Regions from separate parts of the Homo sapiens genome. Here region 2 is linked to region 1. The links are contacts of gene promoters, found by promoter capture Hi-C in blood cells and fetal thymus (Javierre and others, 2016). All regions are on one chromosome and are shown on one strand. Each heading gives the region's core, a stretch centred on a gene start or on the middle of the fragment in contact. The rest is flanking DNA. Distances are from core to core; before and after follow the strand shown.

The links. The method cuts DNA at HindIII sites, captures the fragments that hold promoters and counts their contacts. A CHiCAGO score of 5 or more calls a contact.
Region 2: a fragment that was not itself captured here is called in contact with the fragment with the promoter of TXNDC9 in region 1 in 1 of 17 cell types (erythroblasts); the score reaches 5.2 in erythroblasts.

What each region holds. Positions count from the first base shown.
Region 1 is chr2:99,333,634-99,341,099 of GRCh38, reverse strand. TXNDC9 (thioredoxin domain containing 9) reads left to right here and starts at 4,767. Exons shown (of 5, transcript NM_005783.4): 1 at 4,767-4,861. EIF5B (eukaryotic translation initiation factor 5B) reads right to left here and starts at 3,711. Exons shown (of 24, transcript NM_015904.4): 1 at 3,511-3,711. The coding sequence starts at 3,545. RefSeq lists enhancers at 3,513-3,622, 3,329-3,830, 3,843-3,952, 3,973-4,052, 4,063-4,112 and 5 more and a silencer at 3,283-3,442. The HindIII fragment of the contact is 22,802 bases long and covers 1-7,466 here.
Region 2 is chr2:99,067,284-99,074,749 of GRCh38, reverse strand. TSGA10 (testis specific 10) reads left to right here. Exons shown (of 21, transcript NM_025244.4): 13 at 1,677-1,732; 14 at 2,876-3,044; 15 at 5,752-5,862. Among named protein-coding and RNA genes, the nearest start is that of C2orf15, 71 kb to the left of the region's middle. The HindIII fragment of the contact is 887 bases long and covers 3,270-4,156 here.

The DNA.
Region 1 (7,466 bases), core at 3,518-6,017:
ACATCAAAATCTCATTCTTAGAATTACACAAACTGGGGCTGAGCGTGGTGAATCACACCTGTAATTCCAGGCCTTTGGGAGGCCAGGGTGGGAGGATCACTTGAGTTCAGGAGTTTGAAACCAGGCAGCCAACATGGTGAAACCCTGTCCCTACTAAAAACACAAAAATTAGCCAGGTGTTGGGCGCCTGTCATCCCAGCTACTTGAGAGGCTGAGGCAGGAGAATCGCTTGAGCCCAGGAGGCGGAGGTTGCAGTGAGTGGAGATCGCGCCACTGTACTCCACCCGGGGTGACAGAGCAAGACTCCATCTCAAAAAAAAAAAAGAAGATTTTTCACAAACTGGAACAGAATTCTAGAACTTGGTCTTTAAGCAAAATTCTAGAATTCTAAAAATACACAGACAAGAATAAATATCTTGATCACTGACACATGCTGTACAAATAAAATTAGGTAAGTTAAAATCTAATTTTAAATGAATACTGAGTGGCTAAGAAGTTAAAATAAGGATTAATTAAATATAAGAATTAAGGACAGTGAGTATTGTATGTTCTGTCCAAGAACTGAAAAGTGGCTCCATGCCTTCTCTTGATAACTAAATAAGCAGTTGTCATTTCTCACACAGTTCACACCTTGCCAGAAACATGCCTGACATAGCCAAGGAGGGGAGGTGGAATGACAGTAAAATCTTTAAAGTGTGGACCTTCACCCAGGAGAATAAAACCGGATCTCTATCTCATTTTACACAAACAAGAATACTAATCCTAAAATTGGACTTTCTCCCTCTAGATTTTCTTTCCAGTCTGTGTTTTTGTCCCATTTACAAATATTCAAAATATCCCTGAAGAAAGGAAAGAAATATTAAAATAAAGGTAAAAAGCTGACTCACAAAGCAGTGGAACTTCCCATTCCCCATCTCCCAATATCTCATGTGGAAGACCAAAATAAAAACCCAAGCAGTTCCAGTCAAAGGGAACTCTGCTAAAGCTCAGGATTTCTTAAACACAATCTGAAAGCCATTCATAAAAAGGAGTCCATGAGGCATTTATACACACACACACTCACAAAATGTATCAATTTCATATATTGGTATATGAGAAAATAAATGTTTTAAAATTATATTGCCACCACTTTCCCTTCAACATGAGCCAAAAACAAACAAACCAAAACAACAACAACAACAACAACAAAACACAGATTAGGTTGAGAGGGGGAAAAAACAGCATTTCTTCTACACAACCAAACCAATCATTTAACAACAGGGTCTAGTGTGCAATTTAAACTTTACAGCATCCCTGAAAATCTTTATAAATCAATGAGACACTCACTTTTCCCTAAAAAGACACAGACAAGAATAAACATCTTGTCTCCCAATGGCTTTTTTCTATTGTGAAAGAGCCTGGAAAGTAAAAAGTGTAAGTAGGGAAACATATAAGCCGGATCGCGCCTGTAGTCCTAGCTACTAGGGAGGCTGAGGTGGGAGGATCACTGGCCAGGAGTTCAAGACCTGACTGGGCAACATAGTGAGACTGCCCCTCCATCTCCAAAAAACAAAACAAAACAAAAACACATATATATGTAATTTTAATCTAAAGAACACATTTGTGTAATCCTAAACCAAACGAACGAATTGAAAAAAAAACTGTAATAAGACAATCAGGGAAATCAGCAAACTGACTGAATATTTGCTAATGTTTAAGAATCACTATTAATATTTCTTACAGATATACTTGGTGGATTTACAGATGAAAAGCTAATGAGATTTGCTTTAAAATATCTAGTAGGTGGGGGCCAGGGGCGATGGATCACGCCTGTAATCCCAGCACTTTGGGAGGCCGAGGCGGGCGGATCACCTGAGGTCGGGAGTTCGAGACCAGCCTGACCAACATGGAGTAACCCCGTCTCTACTAAAAATACACAACTAGCCGGATGTGGTGGTGCATGCCTGTAATCCTAGCTACTCGGAGGCTGAGGCAGGAGAATCGCTTGAACCAGGGAGGTGGAGGTTGCAGTGAGCCGAGATCGCGCCATTGCCCTAAGTTTCTTGTTGTCTGGGCAACAAGAGGGAAACTCCGTCTCAAAAAAAAAAAAAAAATGTATATATATATTTGTGTATATATTTGTATATATATATATTTATATATATGTGTGTATATATATTTGTATATATATATATATACACACACTTCTAGTAGGTGGGATGAAACCAAGCAGGTCATGTGCTAACAATGGTTGAAGGCAGGTAATTAATACATAAAGGCTCATTATACTCAGTTCTCTATTTTCTAGAGACAGCTGAACATTAGCAAGGAAAAAAGTACCCTATACATCAAAAATTCCTGTCAAAAGTACAGAAATTTGTGTTCCCCTACATCACCCATAATCCTTATTTTCTCATTCATCTGGTTTAACAATAATTCAATTCTCCAAACCAATTAACTTCCTCCAATAGACCTAAAACTGAAATACAAGACTATCTTTGTTGTCTTTTAATTCTACTCATAAGCTAGTCAAACGCTAGGTGAGAAAACGATCCAGGCTTCCAATTTATAATTAGTAAACTTATTTTAACTTCAAGACAACATATCTGTTTTGAGTCAGACTGATGAACTAGCACTAGTTTTTTTAATTTACCTTACTCTCCGCCTCGTATTTAAGTTTGGTGGGTAGTGTACGAACGTGTAATGTAACAGATGTTGTTCACTCCCAGGAAGTCAACTCTTTCCATCATGAGTAACAGAACTCAATCGAATGTGACACACAGAAATGTCTCAAAAATCTCTAGGTAAGTAACTCGCATATACCCTTATCCTCCCTCCCCAAAGCATTGCAGGTGGTTAGAAAGGAGCGACCTCGGTTGGTTGGTTTCTTCTTCTTCCCTTCCTTTCTTAGGGGAAGGCTAGAGAGCAAAGAAACGACAAAAAAAAACAGGCCGGAAGAAGGAAAGCGAAAAGCATGAGGGCTGGACAATCAGCCCTTAAATAAACGAAAACTGTATCCAAATCAGATTAAGTTGAGAGACAGCGAACTGCTAAACACCTCCCCATAACTCTAACGTACCTGAAACCGCGAGTAGAGAAACCCGGCCGTACATCACATTCAAGCTCCCTTCCCTCCCAAAGTACTCACAGGTATAAGAGGCATAAAAAGAACTTCCCCACCCTCGCCAAGAGTAGCGCGGAAAAAAACTCACACTGGCCTGGGCCACGCTGGCGAAGCCGCCTGACCCTCCCCGCGCGACCAGGAACCCTCAAATGACTACCCCGCTCCTCAGGCCGGGGAAGGGGTGCCGGGGGAGCGAGGCTCGACTGGGAGGACCCGCCCGCCGTCGAGGCCCTACGTGCCCACCCGGCCCGGGGGCTTGGGCCCGCTCCGCACACTCTGGGCCCAGGCCTGGTACCCCGCGAAGCTCATCGCGAGCCCAGACCCCGGTCCGACGCCGCGCCCGGCGAGACCCGCACACTCCACTGAGCCACGGCGGCCGCCGCCGTACGGACCCAACCCCTATCTACCTGTCTTCGCTCTTGTTTTTCTGTTTCTTCCCCATTGCTTGTCAATGGCGCTCGTGGCCCCAGCCCCTCTATTCGGTCTCTCACAGACCCACTGTCTCCCGGCTGACTTTGGTCTCCGCTCAGCTCTTTTCCCCTCGTGCTGCCGCCGCTCGCACCCGGCTCTCCACAGACCCGCGCACTGGAACAGGACACATATGGTGTGAGTTCTCAGTGCGCAAGCGCATCGCCCAGCCGCCTCGGCGTGAGGACGCAGGGCGCGGCTCATCGAGAGCTGCGCTTCGGGTAGAGCGTCTCCGGTTGACCGGCCGACCAGGCAGCAGCCCGAGCGCCCCCTGCCCTCAAGCGTCCGCCACGAGCCGACACCCGCGGGTTTTCCACGTTCTAGAACCCGGAGGTGGACAATGAAGCTGTCAATTTCGCCACCTCACCCCTCTCCCAACGGGGAACGCACGCTTCGGTTCAGGAGTGGGCTTTGGGCTTCCCTTTATATCTTTGTATTCTCAGCCGCACGAAGTTCAGTAAAGAACCACAACGAACCAATAGAGTCCTCTGGGGGTTTGCGAGAGAGATAAATTCAGGACAAAATAGGGACCTCTCAGTAACATCCATGCATTATGCATTATGTACAGTCACTGAATAAAACAGAACAGGACACAGCCGATCAATTCCCTAACATAGGTCTTCAGCTTCACCCTCAAAGCGAGGGCGAGTTCTAAAAATTCCTGTGTTTCGAAGAGTCAAGAGGGGACCTACAGGGGTGGTGGAAAATGTTCTATATCTGGATCTGGCCGGTGATATTTTGGGTTTTAACTATGCAAAAGTTAATTGTGCTGTATATGTTTATGCCTCGACTTTAGGAAAAATGTTAACAAAAGAAAACAAAAAAAAGAAAAATGTTCATTCAACACTAACAGAATGGAAACGCAGTTCAAGCGTCACGGCTGAGCGAGAGCACAGCTGTCTCATTTCCAGTCTGGCGCACTGGACCGTGAATACTGAAGCACGCTCCTGAGAAAGTCCGGCCACGACAGCCTGCGCACTAAGAAACTGCAACTCCCACAATGCTTTGCGGCCTTCCAGTTCGGCCGTGTACCCGGAGGAAAGCAAGGGTCGGACACCTTGGGTTCCGGGCTGCTGGGCGGGAGGCGCACGCGCAGAACTGTTCGCCACCCGACCGCCCGCCCCTTCCTCTGGCGTCCAAGGTGATATCGCGCGAGGTTCGCAGCCAATAAGGAGGCGGATGTGACGGCCCGTTTGCAGCCGCCGGCAGCTACTGCAAGGCAAAAGCCGGAGTGGACGTGTCTTTTGAAACTGCTGCTCTTTCACTTCTCAGGCGTCACCGAGAGCTCAGGTGAGGCAGAGGGTAGTGAGAAGAATCCGACCACCACGTCCGGGTGCTGGTGAACATTCTGCTGCTCCACATCCGGAGCGGAGGAGGGGCGCGGCCCCAGCACCGGTGTCGGTGTCCTGGCAGAGGCTCTTGCGCAAGCGCACCAGGAGGCGTCGAAGTTGGGGCCACCGGGACTGTGCTTTCCTCTGTTTCCCCGGGCGCAGGGAGTGGCCGGCTTGCCATTGGGGAGGTACCTGGGGTTCAGTTAAGGACCAGGCCCCTTGATTGTTTTGGCGGATACCTGTAAGGGTGTCCAGGAAATGACTAGGGAATTTGAGGACGCGCTGTGTCCCGTCCCACCCTTCCAGCGGAGCTGTAAAAAGGAAGAATCAGAGGCTGTGGTTTGAAAAATGAAAAGCTAACGAGGGGTTGCATCGTCTCTTTACCCCATTCTCAATGCTCTGACCACCAACACCTACACCCAGAATAGCTCTTCTTAATCTCGTCTTTTTCCAGTTATCCCATAATTAAATTCTGGGCTCATTCTATAAAGTTCCAGGGTAGGCATTCTCTGTGCTTATCCCTGGAGCACAGCTTCCAACGTTCAATTCAGTATCTTATTATCTTCTCCTTCCAGCCCCCTCACTGAGGGTCACAGTCCTACTGACATTTTTCTTGGGCGATAGGGAGCGTGGAAATCTTTGCTGTGTTTGAAATACAGCACCTTTCCAATTTTATAGCACTCACGAGGAGCTTACAATTTGGTTTTTTAGACTCAAATACTTTTGAAACTTAACAGTGTAGTAATTTGAACAGAAGTCAGGCACGTGTTCATTCAACGTTAAATACATGTTTATTGAGTACCTGCTGTGTTCTATGGAGATACAAAGATGAAATCAAGTATGCTTTTCAAATCCTTTTCCTGTAAAGAAAAAGGAATCAGAATTGAAGTTTGCAAGAATATTTCTCTTCAGCTCAACGTTTATAGAGGGCCTGTGTGGGTCAGAATCTGTGTCAGAAGCTGAGTGAATGAATTCACAGTTTGTTGTGAAGTTTGGGGTGCTTCAGTATTATTTGCAAATGTATCATAGTTCATTGATATGCAACAGCCTCCTGCTTTGATAGGCAAATTATAAATCATTTCTGCAGTAATAACCCTGAGATACACATAAACTTGCCCTCTAATTGTTGGTATAAAATTTCTCGTACAAAATACTCCATTTCTTTTAAAAGAAGTAAAATTTTGGCCGGGCGCGGCTGGCTCACGCCTGTAATCTCAGCACTTTGGGAGGCCGAGGCGGGCGGATCACGAGGTCAGGAGATCGTAGCCATCCTGGCTAACACGGTGAAACCCCGTCTGTACTAAAAATACAAAAAGAAATTAGCCGGGCGTGGTGGCGGGCGCCTGTAGTCCCGGCTACTCGGGAGGCTGAGGCAGGAGAATGGCGTGAACCCAGGAGGCGGAGCTAGCAGTGAGCGGAGATGCGCCACTGCACTCCAGCCTGGGCGACAGAGCGAGACTCCGTCTCAAAAAAAAAAGTAAAATTTTGTACTAATTGCTAGTACAAAATACTCCATTTCTTTTAAAATATATAGTCATGTGCCACATAAGGACATTTCAGTTTTATGAGATTGTAATACTGTATTTATCGTACCTTTTCTATGTTTAGATACACAAATGCCATTATGTTACAGTTGTCTGCAGTATTCAGTACAGTAACATGCTGTACAGATTTGTAGCCTAGGAGTAATAGGCTGTATGGCATAGCCTAGGTGTGTAGCAGGCTGTACCATCTGGGTTTGTGTAAATAGTCTATAATGTTTGAAACAATATCAAAATCACCTAATGATGCATTTCTCAGAATGTATTCTCATTGTTTTGTGGGTTTTTGGTTTTTGGTTTTTGAGACAGGGTCTGGCTCTGTTGCCCAGGGTGGGGTGCAAGTGGTGCGTTCTCAGCCCACTGCAACCTCTGCCTCCTGGGCTCAAGGTATCCTCCTCCCACTTCAGCCTCCCTAGTAGCGGGGACTACAGGCACACACCACCGGGCCTGGCCAATTTTTCTATTTTTAGTAGAGACAGGGTTCCATCATGTTTCCCAGGCTGGTCTCAAACATCTGAACTCAAGTGATCTGCCCACCTTGGCCTCCCAAAGTGCTGGGATTACAGGCGTGAGCCATAGCACCCAGCCTAGAATATATTCCCATTGTTAAGTGATGCATGACTAATTGAGATAGGTCTTCCTTTCTAATCTGAATTAGTTCTATTTTGAAACTCTGATTTTACACAGAGGAGTGATGTTGGAAAAAAACCCAAAATTTAGAAAAGTATTTGGAGTGTTTTACATCAAAGTTAACACTGTCAGTAAATGGAAACCAGTATTAATTTTTGTGACCTCATAGACTTTTTTGTTAGGTAATGGGAGAACAGGAATGGACATTAATGCTCAGGGAACACCAGGCACTCTTCTTTACATAAATGGTAATGAGACGTCTTAGGAGTTAAATGAAACTCATTTGGGCAGCAGCCATGAAAAAAATCTGTGTTTTGCTCAACTGTACTCTGTGTTTAAGTAAAGTTTAATATATATATTTATGTGTAAAACCTCAGTAGGTATACCTTCCTA
Region 2 (7,466 bases), core at 2,464-4,963, 270 kb after region 1:
TGACCTCGTGTTCCGCCTGCCTCACCCTCTCAAAGTGCTGGGATTACAGGCATAAGCCACCGCATTCGGCCTCAAGTAAAGACTTTCAAAAGCACTAGTTCAACTAGCTTTTCAGAATTTGTTTAGAAATGTATTAAATTATATTTCAAAAATGTGTAAACATTCCATTTTATGGAGTATTTTGTCTTTTAGTTTTTCCTTCGTTGGCTTGTCCTTCTTGAAGGGGTTTAACTTTTTTTTTAATGCATATTTTAACAACACACCAGTATCTATTACTGCCAGATGTGGAATCTGTACCATTCCATGAGAAAGCAGAATGGGAAACTGTAGCTAAAAATACCCTGGAGAAGAGCACATGAATAAAGGAAGATAGCACACACACACACACACACACACACGCAAATATGTGTAAAACTAACGCTAAAGAAATAGGAACGGCCGGGCGCAGTGGCTTACGCCTGTAATCCCAGCACTTTGGGAGGCCGAGGTGGGTGGATCACTTGAAGTCAGGAGTTTGAGACCAGCCTGGCCAACATAGTGAAACCCCGTCTCTACTAAGTATACAAAAAATTAGCTGGGCATGGTGGCGCATGCCTGTAGTCCCAGCTACTTGGGAGGCTGAGGCAGGAGAATCGCTTGAACCTGGGAGGCGGAGGTTGCAGTGAGCCGAGATCGCGCCCTCGCACTCCAGCCGGGGCATCAAGAGCAAAACTCCATCTCAAAAAAAAAAAAAAAAAAAAAAAAAAAAAGAAAAGAAACAGGAACAGAATTGGTTGGAAAATATAGGTTTGGGTTTTTAAAAATCTTTTTACTTAGTTACTTAAAATTTGAAAATTCAAATGGCAAGGTGAAATCTAGTTATTACTTAGTGAAATAACTTTCTTACTTTTTTAGGGCTAATGTTAGCTCTAAGTATCTGTTTATAGTTGGACTAGTTCAGGGTCAATGGAAGTTTTAAAAAGAGGTGTGGGAATGGTATTAAAGGCATTAAGATATTCAAACCCATTTCTGCCTTGACTGACTCCACTACTTCTACTCCCTCATCACGCCTTTGAAAAAGGAAAATATAGTTTATTTCTCTTACCTTTGCTCGAGGCCTAATGCTTACCTTCTTATTAGCTCTCACCTAAATATCAGTAGTATACTTCTATAAGTAATTGGATTGGAACAGCTTTTTGAAGATTTTGTTGCTGGCTAATATAAATAATACACTTAATCAAAATTATTCTTAAAAACTAAATTTAGGTATACATGATTGGCTTCTCTGGGTTTTATAACATAAAGAATGTGAGCAAGAGAACCAGTTCTAAATCCCAGTATAAAATGCCAATACTCCAATGCCAAACCATTGGTTTGCCTCCAAAAACAGGTGGTTATAGGGTTCTTGTATTGCTGGGTGACTGCATAAAATATCTTTTGACAAAGAATTTGATATACTGATCTCATAATTACACCTAAGTATAGCCTTTACTTTAATGAACATAATCTATTTTTACCCAGTGCAAATATTCACATTGATATACTAGGCTTTAAAGTGTGGAAAAGAATAGGACATACATGTTTTTAAAACCAAATGGAAACCTAAAGGGAAAGGGAAATTTTCTTTTTGTTCATTCAATTTTAACAGAAATAACAGCTTAAGATTTTTTTATTTAATACTTATATTATTTTTCAAGGAAAAGACCATTTCAGGCATGAAGAATATCATTGCTGAGATGGAACAGGCATCAAGGTAAATCAGTCGTGCAACAAATATATGAGCTCTTACTGGGGGGCCAAGTACCATGTTAGGTACAAAGATAGTAAGAAACAAGGGGCTTAATGATACGTGTAAGGTGCTAACTCTCTCATCAAAGGAGGCCTAAGTCTGTCTAAGGAACTAAAAGAGGGGATGGTGTTTGCCAAGTAAAATAAGGGGAAGGGAAGGGCATTTAAAGTAGAAAGAATAGCAAAGAACCACAGATCATGTTGACAAGCCTCTTGACCTACAAGTGGGTGAGTGTTGTTGAAACCTAGAGTGTAAGGGGAGAAGTGAAGGGAGGAGACTAAATAGGCAGGCAGAGGCTTGTGTAACAGACAAATGAGTATTGGTTATATCCTTTGGGCAATAAGAAATCATTAAAGAATTCTGAGGAGAATTTTGTGTTAGAAAGATACCTAAGCAGAAGAGGTGGTGATAAATTGGGGTTTAGGAGTTGTGGGACAGAAGGAGTGAAATGCTTTTGTATGAGGGAGAGACACCAGGAAAATGCCAAGTTTCTGGCCAGGGACAAATACTGAACATGAAGAAAGTATGAGGAGAAAAAATGATTTTACCTCTGAATTTGAAGAACCTTTGGGACCTTATTGTAGACATGTCTAGTAAGCAGTTAAATATAAGTCTGGAGTATAACAGAGGGTCTAAAACTGGAGATAATTATTTTGGAGTCATTGGATCTAGATGGGGTTGGGAACCATGGATATGAATAGAGTTTGTCTGAGAGAAGGGTTAGAGTGAGAATAATTGGGAGGCTAGGGCTTGAGCCCTGAAAAGCATTAATTTTTAAGTGGGCAGAGGAAGAGGAATCTGTAAAGGAGACTAAGCCATAACAGAAGTAGGATGAAAGCCTTCCTAATACTTGATGTAAGAAGTTTTGAAATATTTGGCAAATCATTGACTATTATGTATACTTTGTATCCTTTTCATAGCGAAATGATGGCAACATTGAGAAACTCTAATGCACTGTCTTTGCAGTATTTATTCCTATAAATTCAAACGTGTTTAAAATCTCTTCAAATGTTTTCATACTAACTGTCCATCTTCTGTCTTGTGAGAATTTGTTGCTCTGTTTCAGTAAAATGTCTCTTCTTATGTACTCTTTGATTTGTGGAATAGACAGTGTACTGAGGCCCTAATTGTGTGTGAACAAGACGTTTCCAGAATGCGTCGGCAATTGGATGAGACAAATGATGAGCTGGCCCAGATCGCCAGGGAAAGAGATATCTTGGCTCATGACAATGACAATCTCCAGGAACAGTTTGCTAAAGCTAAACAAGAAAACCAGGTACACTTGTTCCTAGAATCATTTTCTCCAAGAAAAAAAAATATGAATTTCTTGTGAGGAACAGCCCTCATTTTATTTTATAGAAGAGCTCAGACACTGGAACTAGCCTTTTCTTTTTTTTAAAAAATAACAAAATAGGCCACATAATTTTTAAATGGAATTCTCAGACACAAAGGGTTAAATATTAAAGAAAAGAGAGAACAGGGCTATATTTGTATTAAAGCTTAGTACTTCCTTGCTGAAGGATAAATATTTGAATAATCAAAAAATGAGAATAAAAACCTTGAGAAACCTTAAAGAAAAGAATAGGTGTTTTTTTTTTAAAAAAATGGACTACATATTATTCTGTTTTAAGTATGAATGTATGGACTGTGCCTTGTTTTTTGGTTCTCATTAGCACTGTGATTCTTTTTAGGAAAGTTCCTCTTATAATTACTCTTTCTCCCTAAGGCAATATATTTAAGTCTAATCTGCAGTTCTCATTTCCAATAACATTTATTTTAACGTGAACATTTAAAAATCCTATTTGGAAAATTTCTTCCCTTCTCAAAATTTTTAAGACCAAATGGTTTTCCCCACTTTGTATCACTTTCAGTGTGTTTAGTTTGCATCCTGAAAGTCTGTGTTCTTTAACTGTTGAAGATTATTAATTTACTTAAACAGCTATAAAGCTGTAATACTTTGTTAATCATAAAAAATTATCTGAGATGTTAAAGTATTTTGTTTAAAAGTAAATGAATAATGGGATCCTGGAATAGAAAAAGGACATTATGTAAAAAAGGAAAGAAATCTGAATAAAGTATGGACTTCAGATAATAATGTGTCAATATTGGCTTATTAATTGTGACATATGCACCATACTAATGTAAAATGTTAACAATAGAGGTGCCCTTTATAATGTCTTCACAACTTTTCTGTAAATCTAAAACTATTCTAAAAGTTTATTTAAAAAATTAATGAATAGCAATAAAAACCAAAACATGGGAATTTGTAAGGTTTGCCTTTGTGTACTCTTTACAGCTAGAGCATATGGGCTAAAGGTGGATATATCTTATTTATGAAAACCTAGAAATTTAGTTTCTATTTTTTTGATTGGTTTAGAAATAGAAGCTTATTATAGAAAGTCTTTTTTCTAAACAAAAAGTTAAGAGTTTAGAAAAGCCCCCATGTTTTTGATACTCAGTTACTGTTATATTTGACATATTTTTTTAATTGCTATACAGTGCACTTAAAAATTTTAACACTATTTTTATACACATTTTCTAATGTAGTGGGATAAAATCACCTATCACTTTAGATCATGCTTTTTTCTACATGAAGAGGCAGTAGAGTCGAGTAAGATTCACATGGGTTGAATCTTGCTCTCTGCGTGTGTGATCATATAAACCAACTTCTCTGAGTCTCTGTAGCATCTGTAAAAATGGTTAATAAGTGAGACTATACCTGGAAAGCACTTACTGTACTGTCCAGTATATCACTCAATAAATATTTTATAGCTATTATTAGCTTACTATAATATTGTAAGCATTTTCCTGCCTTGTTCAAACTTTGTAAACATTTTTTATAATCAGAAGAAAACTGTTGTCATAACAATTTACATATGCTCAAAAGTAGTTTTTTCTTCGTTATGGTCATAGGCCCAAGGTAGAAGAGAGGTCTCTCTCTGTGGACCACAGGTTAAGAACCAGTATTGCAGAAGACGAGAAAGTGGAAACTTAAAAAAAATTTATCCTTGATACCACAATTTTTAACAAATTGGGATAATGAGGTATTTTTGTGTTTTAGCACGATTTTTTTTTCACTTAACATAGGCAAATATTTCCCTGTATTATTAAAAATCATTCCAAACATTTCTCACAGGTATGTAATATTCCATTATGTGGTTATGCCACTATGTAGATATACTATTATTTACTGCATGATTCACTTAATGTGAATAAATATTGTCACTGTAACAAATGCCTTAATGACAGCATCTCATTAAATTTTATTAGATTTCATTTCAGAGTGAATCACAGATTATCAGGTTTCTTTTTAATTATTATTTATTTATTTATTTATTTATTTATTGTAGAGTTGGGTTCCCACTATGTTGTTCAGGCTGGTCTCAAACTCTTAGGCTCAAGTGATCCTCCCAAAGTGCCAGGATTACAGGAAAAACACCCAGCTGAGGTTTCTTTTTTAAATTAAAAAAATGTAAATAGACATTTTCAAATATAATGAATCCCCATGTGCCATTTCCCACCTTCAAAAATAATCAACATTTTTGTCTTTCTTGTTTTTATGAGCATTTAAAAATTGTCTCTTGATACATCACCAGATTCCTGATCACAGATTTGCTTTCTGCAAATCTACATTTACTCCAGTAGTACATGGAAATGCCCATTCTTTACCATAGCTGAATAGCTTTAAATCTTTATTAATTTGATAAGCAGAATAGTAATGTGTTGTTTTAATTAGCATATCTTCAGTTGCTAGTAGAGTTTTTTTCAGGTCTTACCTACTTATGCTTCCTTTTTTGAATTGCTTATTTGGGTCATTTGCCCACTTGCTATTGGGCTTATGTGTTTTCTTTTTTTATATGAGTTTATATATTAGGTATGTTAATTTTATTTGTTCCAAGTGTTTAAAAATTTGTTTATGGTATTTTTGAGATATAGAAATTTTTTATTTTTCATAGTCAAATATACCTATCTTTTTTTCGTAGGCACTGTCCAAAAAATTGAATGACACTCATAATGAACTTAATGACATAAAACAGAAGGTTCAAGATACTAATTTGGAGGTTAACAAGCTGAAGAATATATTAAAGTCTGAAGTATGTATTTTTTTTTTCTTTTTGCTCATGATACTTAGTTTTCACTAGAGTTAATTTAGAAGTTGGTATACTCAGAACGACAGGTGAATCAAAGCTTTCTTTAATACATAGTATATTTTAGTTTTGACAATGGTGGGTTAACTACATATTTAGAATGTTCAGAAAGATGCCTGGAGAATATGCCCCTTTTGTTTTGCAACTCTGCCACTCTAGACAAGCAGAATCTTCCTAACTGGATGATGGACAAAGGGCTAAAATCAATTTGACCTCGCTTATAATTAATTGAAAGTGGTGGGGTTTCCAGTTATAAACCTCTGACAAAAGAGGTTCCACCTGATTATGTAGCAGATCAGAATTGGTTACCCTGTTATGGGACCATCTATTTTTTTTAGGACCACAAGGCAGATGGTTCTCCTCACACTTCTCTGTTAGCAATCATTTGACCAGGCACATGTACATGACATCAGATGACTCCAATAAGTGTGGTGCATGTGTGGCAACTCAGGAATAAACAGGCAGCTTTACTGAGGATTTTAGATATGTCTATTAGGTAAAATATTATCTAAAATTGAGGGAGGATGTTCCCATTAATGGTTTGAGTGGTATGTAGGTAACACTATACCTATTATAATAATCAATCCACCTATACTATTTTATCATTTCATGTCAGTCCACAAACATATCTTGAACATTTATTTATGGTATGCATAGTACTGTTAAGGGCTTTGAGACAGAAGAGATTCTAAGGATTTCTAAATTGCAATCCTTGCTTTCAGGCAGCAAGCAGCCTGTGTAGGAAAAGCACGTGGTTTCCTACACTTCCTGATTTTAAGGTTCCAGCAATGTAATACCATAAATGAACAAAAGGCTTTTTATTTATGCAGGCTACTCAGCCTCTCTGATTCTTCCCATCTGTAATCGGGAAGAACACCCAAGTAAGTGAGATAATTTAAAACACCTAGCACAGTGAGCCATCTGAATCTATTCTAGAATAGGTCAGAAATAAATAAATGAATATCCAGAGCAACACTTTTTTTTTTTTTTGAGACAGGCTCACTGTATTGCCAGGCTGGAGTGCAGTGGTGCAATCGTGGCTCACTGCAACCTTTGCCTCCCATGTTCAAGCGATTCTCCTGCCTCCTGAGTAGGTGGGGTTACAGGTGCATGCAACCATGCCCGGCTAATTTTTGTATTTTTAGTAGAGACGGGGTTTCGCCATGTTAGCCAGTCTGGTCTCGAACTTCTGACCTGAAGTGATCCACCTGTCTCGGCCTCCCAAAGTGCTGGGATTACAGGCATGAGCCACTGCACTCACCCCAGAGCAACATTTAACATAGTAAGCTTTCAGCCAGTGTTAAACACTTCCCTTTATCTCCCTTGTCTGTTAGTAACATTACCTGAAATTCCACCATTAGGGATTATAACTTTTAGATTCTAGAATTATATTTTCAGACATCACACATCAAGCTTCTTAGGCTCAAGTGATCCTCCCACCTCGGCCTTCCGAAGTGCTGGGGATTTTAGCATCCTAGTATGAATTTGTTTATGAGATTGCATAACACTGGATGGATGCAGGCCCGGAGAGAATGAACCACGGATCCATT